2 separate regions of the Homo sapiens genome follow, and region 1 is linked to region 2. Evidence: promoter capture Hi-C in 16 types of primary human blood cells and fetal thymus (Javierre and others, 2016). All regions are on one chromosome and are shown on one strand. The core of a region is centred on a gene start or on the middle of the fragment in contact, and the rest is flanking DNA. Distances in the headings are between cores, read along the strand shown.

The links. The method cuts DNA at HindIII sites, captures the fragments that hold promoters and counts their contacts. A CHiCAGO score of 5 or more calls a contact.
Region 1: a contact is called between a fragment that was not itself captured here and the fragment with the promoter of LYAR in region 2, in 2 of 17 cell types (naive B cells and total B cells). The highest score is 7.0, in naive B cells.

Annotation. Positions count from the first base shown.
Region 1 is chr4:5,808,419-5,811,310 of GRCh38, forward strand. EVC (EvC ciliary complex subunit 1) reads left to right here. Exons shown (of 21, transcript NM_153717.3): 19 at 1,100-1,193; 20 at 1,921-2,032; 21 at 2,535-2,892. The coding sequence ends at 2,619. Among named protein-coding and RNA genes, the nearest start is that of CRMP1, 83 kb to the right of the region's middle. The HindIII fragment of the contact is 3,963 bases long and covers 1-2,892 here.
Region 2 is chr4:4,288,819-4,291,777 of GRCh38, forward strand. LYAR (Ly1 antibody reactive) reads right to left here and starts at 1,336. Exons shown (of 10, transcript NM_017816.3): 1 at 1,218-1,336. It overlaps ZBTB49 (zinc finger and BTB domain containing 49), which reads left to right and starts at 1,433. Exons shown (of 8, transcript NM_145291.4): 1 at 1,433-1,534. RefSeq lists an enhancer at 1-361. The HindIII fragment of the contact is 4,525 bases long and covers 1-2,959 here.

The sequences.
Region 1 (2,892 bases), core at 15-2,514, 1.5 Mb after region 2:
GGGACTGCACTTCCCTGCCTGTGGCATCGTTGACCCGCTGAGTCTCACCTGCTGAGGGTGTGTCGGCCTCGCCTTAGGACCCTGAGCCCCTGGAGGGCAAGTGTGGCCTGTGTGGATCCCTACAGCAGCTGCAGCATGCTAAGCAGGGCCAGGCCCTGAGCAGCTGGTCAGGCCTCATCTATGGAGCTGACAGAGAATTGAGCATTCCCCTGTGTGCGCATGGCCACCAGGAGGCTTCCGGTGTAATGGTGACCTCTGTGTCACTCAGGCAGTGTTGGCGATAGCTAAAGTTTACACTTTATTTACAGCAAACAGGAAGCTCAGCTCTCATGATATAAAGTGCATATTTCATTACAGAAAATCCCATTTGTGTGAGGTTATACAGTGAGATGTAAGGTGAGAGTATAAAGTGTGGCTAAGCAAAGTGGCTGCCTTTAAAAAAATCAAATCTTCCAGAATGGAAGCATTTAGCAGAGTGTTGGCCCTTTCAGAGTGTTCTCCACTGGCGATGGCAGTCGCAGAGTGACAGTGGTAAGAATACAGCAGTGGTGGCCGATAGGTACTTATTGAGGGTCTATGATAGATAGTCATGAGCTGAGAGCTTTGCACACACTTTCCAACAAAAGAGGTTACTGCTACTGTCCCCATTACAGATGGACAAACTGAGGCATGCACAGGTTACGTTGCTATCCAGGGTCACACAGTTAATGCATCATGGAATTCTGGTGTGTTTGTTTACACCACAGTGTTGGAAGTTTAGAGCCCAGCCTGTGGAGTCGGGCAGAAGTGAGTCCCATCCTATTCTGCTGCACCTGCTCCGGGCAGGTCACTGAGGCCCTCTGACCTCAGTGTACTCTGTCAACTGAAGACCGACGGCCAGTGTGAGTGAGGACCCACAGTTATGCAGCAGGAGCTGGTAGATGCCAGTGTGTCCTCCTGCTCCTCTCCTCTCTGGGATGTATGTTGGAAAATTCTCCTCCACACGGGAGACGTGGTCTTCAGTGGCCAGCCTCAAGTGTCAGAATTCACTCACGTGGAGAGGGATTTAGAGAAGTCAGAGGGAGGCCCAGCTGAATGCTCCTCTCTGCTTGCATTTCAGGAAGCTGAACAGAACTTCATCTCCGAGCTGGCAGCCTTGGCCCGAGTGCCCCTTGCTGAAAGCAAACTGTTGCCTGCTAAGCGTGGGCTGCTAGGTGAGTCACAGATGCTTGAGTTGCAGCGGGAAGCACTCTGGGCTGAGAGATACGGATTCTAGTTCCACACTGGCCACTAACTAGCTGTGTGACCTTAGGCATCGTGCCTAGGCTCTCTGGGCTTTTGTGACCTTGTCTGTAAATGAGCAGGCTTGGCTAGGCCACCCCTCAGGCCCACTTGCTCTCTAGCATTTGATAATTCCAGTTCTTGGGTCTGGTGTTCACTGGCTGTGTCTCCTAACTGACTCCATTTTTCCATCTGTAAAGTGGGGATAAGCCCTCCTCCCACCCTTGCCAGCGACAACTTCAGTGACATCACAGGATTTTTTAACCTGGTAATGAGAGAGTGACTCAGAAGGTGGTGTGAGAACACAGAGATCTACTGAAACAAAAGCTGTCACACTGGTGCTGGGTTTTCAGTTGCTTGCTGCTTCATTAAGTCTTCCAGTCAGCTGGGTAGAGTGGATACCCAGCGGGAGCCTAGCAGACTGGAGCTCAAGCCACAGCTCTGCCACTTCCTGGCTTGTGCAGGCTTGGGAGAGTACGTCACCTTCCCAGGCCTCAGTTTCCTCATTAGTTGAGTGGCTGCAATAGCATAAGATACCAAGCATACACTTGGCCCACACAACATGCTCAAAAATGTCAGGCTGGGTTGGTGTGAGGCTGCAAGAAGTTGTCACTTGTCTAAAGTCACAGAGCCATGCCTGGGTTCATCTGTCCTCTACAGAGAAGCCCCTAAGGACTAAAAGGAAGAAGCCCCTGCCCCAGGAAAGAGGGGACCTGGGGGTGCCCAACAATGAGGACCTTGCCTCCGGGGACCAGACCTCAGGCTCACTCAGGTATGACTGGGCCCCGGACCTGTTGCCTGTGGCTGGGTTTGGTAAATGCACTCAGCTGCTGTGTGCCAAAAGTCAGGGCAGGAAAATCATCAGTCCCCTCAGAGGCATTAAATGTGAAGGTTCAAGAAATGACAGATATGAACGTAATTTGTGGGCAGTAAGCCATGATGATACCAGGGGTGCCACATGGCTGTTACCCTTCCTGTTTGTGTCTCATTTGGCCAGATGAGCCTTGACCTACCTCCACACCCCATTGGCATCCAGCCTGAAGTGTTGGGCAGTCCCTTCTTTGACCAGGGATGGCTGTGGTCATGGCACTTGGATGACCTCCTACCCAAGGAGGGAAACGGGTTTTATTGGTTTCTTAACAACCCATGTCAAAGTAAAAATTGTTTTGATCACCTTTGGCTGCATTTTCATTTAATCCGATTGGGTAAGTTATGGCATCATGATGGGCATGGAGTCAGCGTTCTAACTGGCTGCCTTTCTTCTCTGTTTTAAGCAGCAAAAGGCTGAGTCAGCAAGAAAGTGAAGCTGGGGACAGTGGGAACTCAAAGAAGATGCTAAAGAGAAGAAGCAACTTGTAGTTTAAGACCAGTCGGTGGGACAAGACCTGAAGCCCTGGGTCTGGGTGTGAATTCCACCTTCCCTCCTGCAGTGCTGAGAGGCAGCGAGGACGGAGAGGACAGCGGCATCTCTAGGCTCTTCTGAGAGGGACAGAGAAAGAATAGAAATGTGCCCTAAAAGCATAAATGAGTATCACCTGAGAAAATTAGGCATTCCCGTCTTGGAAACACGTCTCTGTGAGTTTGCATTTCATTTGGCTTGGAGCCCTGGCTCGATGCCTCATGGATCTTTCT
Region 2 (2,959 bases), core at 86-2,585:
GCAGACACTGACCTACACATCATTACCACCACTACCACTCAAACAGCCCACCTGAGGGGCCTAGCTGGCAACCCCAGGATATCCCCCACTGAACACTGTGACCCTGAGCATGCCACTGCCTCTATAAACTTCAAGTTATCTCATCTGTGAAACAAGAAGTCAGGCCAACTTGACAAGACTCAAGCCCCTTCCACGGGTAGCATTCTGAGAAACCATGGGTATGGTGCAAGAGAAGGACAGACAAACATACTCTGTCCACCATCCTGCCTAAACCTTTGTGTATGAGGCTGACAAGGGTTACAATGGGTGACATTCACAAGGAGAGAATCTCTCCCTTGTTCCTTGCAAAAGCCCTGGGAAGTAGGTGCACCTATCTCCACTAAACAGATGAGCAAACTGAGGCACAGAAGCCATTTCTCTCTGCCTCCTACCCCACCCACGGCATCACCAGCACTGTTTTAAACACCATCCCTTCACTCGAGTAACTACCATGTGTCAGGCACTATGCTAGACCCTGGGAGCCTCGGGCACAGTGTGAGTAAGTCCCAAGTGGGCCCTCTCTGCTAGAAATCAGGGTTGCAAATACAGACCCCACCTCATCCTCCTCCCTCTCTCCTCAGAGGTAGGTGCTTCAGAGAATCCTAACATTCATGGAGCACCCAAGCCCTCTCATAGGAGGTTAACACATTTCTACTCATGTAATCCTCATCACAGTTCTCCGAGTTAGATTCTATATGTTATGACAGATGAGGAAAGTGAGGCGCAAAGAGGTTAAAAAACTTACACCAGGTCATCCCACATCCAGGTAGTGGCAACCCAGATTCACACGCAGTAGTTATTCTGATCCTAAGTATGTGCTCTGGACCGCTACATCCTAAGGCCTCCTCTTTAGGGACTGATCTCCCAAGGCTCAGAGAAGAGCCCTGTCTCCAACATGCAGCAAGCCTGAAGCCCAGTCGGGCGGTGACCAATCGTCCTGGTTTGGCCAGGCCCGAGGGAGTTCCCAGGACGCCGGACCTTAAGTTTTAAAACTAAAACGAGTTGGTCACCCTAAGTCCAGGACTCCTGCCACTTCCCCAGAGCAGGAGTGAGATCTGAATGGAACTCCTTCCTCCATGCGTAACCCAGAGGGGCTGACGGTGGAAATCCCGTCCCTCCCCTACTCACTCTCTGAGCCCCAGCCTCCCAGGTCGGACCTCTGGGCCACCACCCCTCACCTCTCAGCCAGCGCCCGCCAACGGTTTCAACCGGCCGCGGGGAGCACGTGGACTCGCCGCCGCCAGCCCAGCGCCGCAGCTACCTGCCTCTCAGGCTTCGCGGTGCAGAATTCGCTTCTGAACCACCCAGCGCGCCTGCGCACCGCGGCCACGCCCCCCCCAGTGGAAGTGACGCCAACGGAAGCAGGAAGGCGGTTCCGGCAAGCCAAGGGGGCGTTGTCGTGATGATTCCGCGGCCAGCGGATCGCTGCGAGTGGCCTTGAAGGCAGCTGCTGCAGGTGAAGAGTAGGCGGCGGGGCAGAGAGCGGCCTCCGAGGGTAAGGTGGCCGGCCTTGCGAAGGCGTGCGGGGCTGGCGCTGGTGGGAATGGCCCGGAAGGGAAGGGAGGCCGGGCGCCCGAAGGTGGCCCAGAAGGGCATGGACCCACCGCTCCTTCCCGTCTCTGGGCACTCGAGGATACCCGGGGGGTTGGCGGCTCCTGCGAGAGTCAGCGAGCATTTGCTCTGTGCCGGGCATCACAGGGGACGCGGACTGAGACCCAGACGGCCAGGTTCCGGGCCTGGGAGCCGGGCCTTCTCCCTGGTGCAGCTTCCTCGGCCTGGAAACCCCACCCGCGCCCTCTCATCTCCAGGCTTTGCCCGCTGGAAGCCAGCCCGGCCCGCCTCCGCTACGCGCTGCCCATCTCTCGGCTTCTGTTTCCTTCCACGCTGTAGTTGAGAGTAGCGCTTAAGACGACAGAGCCCACAGCCTAGCTCAGTTTCATTACGGTGTGGCCTCTTTGTGCCTCAGCCCCGCATCTGTAAAGCGAATGTCATAGCGGCACCTGCGTCCCTGGAACCTTGTCGTATTTCATGAGTTGGTGCATGTAAATCGCTTAGACTAGTGGCTGCCACTTAGTAAGTACTCAATAAACGTTAGCTCTTCTCAGCCCTTAAAACAGGGTCTGGCACACAGTGGTGGTCACTAGGTGTTTGTTGCTTAAATGAATGAATGAAAGTTGAGTGGAGGATGCACAGAGTATTGTGAGAAACCTTCACTCCCAAGGTGTGTGTATATGGGTGATAAGGTTTCACTCTGAAAGTGAGCAGTGTTGGGCCTGGAATAGAAGGTGTATTAGTTTGCTAGGACTGCAAACAAAATACTGGGTGGCTTAAACAACAGAAATTTATTATTTTCTCACAGTTCTGGAGGTTAGAAGTCCAAGATCAAGGTGTCTTCAGGTTTGGTTTCTTCTGAGACATTTCTCCTTGGCTTGCACGTGGCTGCTTTCTTGCTGTGTCCTCGCATGGTCTTTCCTCTGTGTTTTCACATCTCTGGCGTCTCTCTTTGCATCCAGATTTCCTCTTTATGAGAACGTCAGTCAGGTTGTATTAGGGCCCACCTTAATGGCCTCATTTTAACTTAATTACCTTCTTACAAGCCTGATCTCCAAATACAATCACATTCTGGAGTGCTGGGGGAACAGTTTAACCATAACAGAAGGAATTCACAGAAATGGACAAGGAGGGAAATACTTTCCAACAGAAGTGACAGAATGGCCAGGAGGCTTAAAAGCAGGGTGCTCAAGATGTTTTTTGTGTTCAGGGCACATATGTGTACTTCAGTCTTGTTTGTGCTCTCGTACTGTTTTTGGGTTTGGTTGTTGTTGTTTGTTTGTTTGTCCTCCTGAATACTCAAAGAAAGTGAGCCCTCTCATTTTTTTAGTCTGGCAAACTTAACTCACATTTCAGCATAGATGTGTCT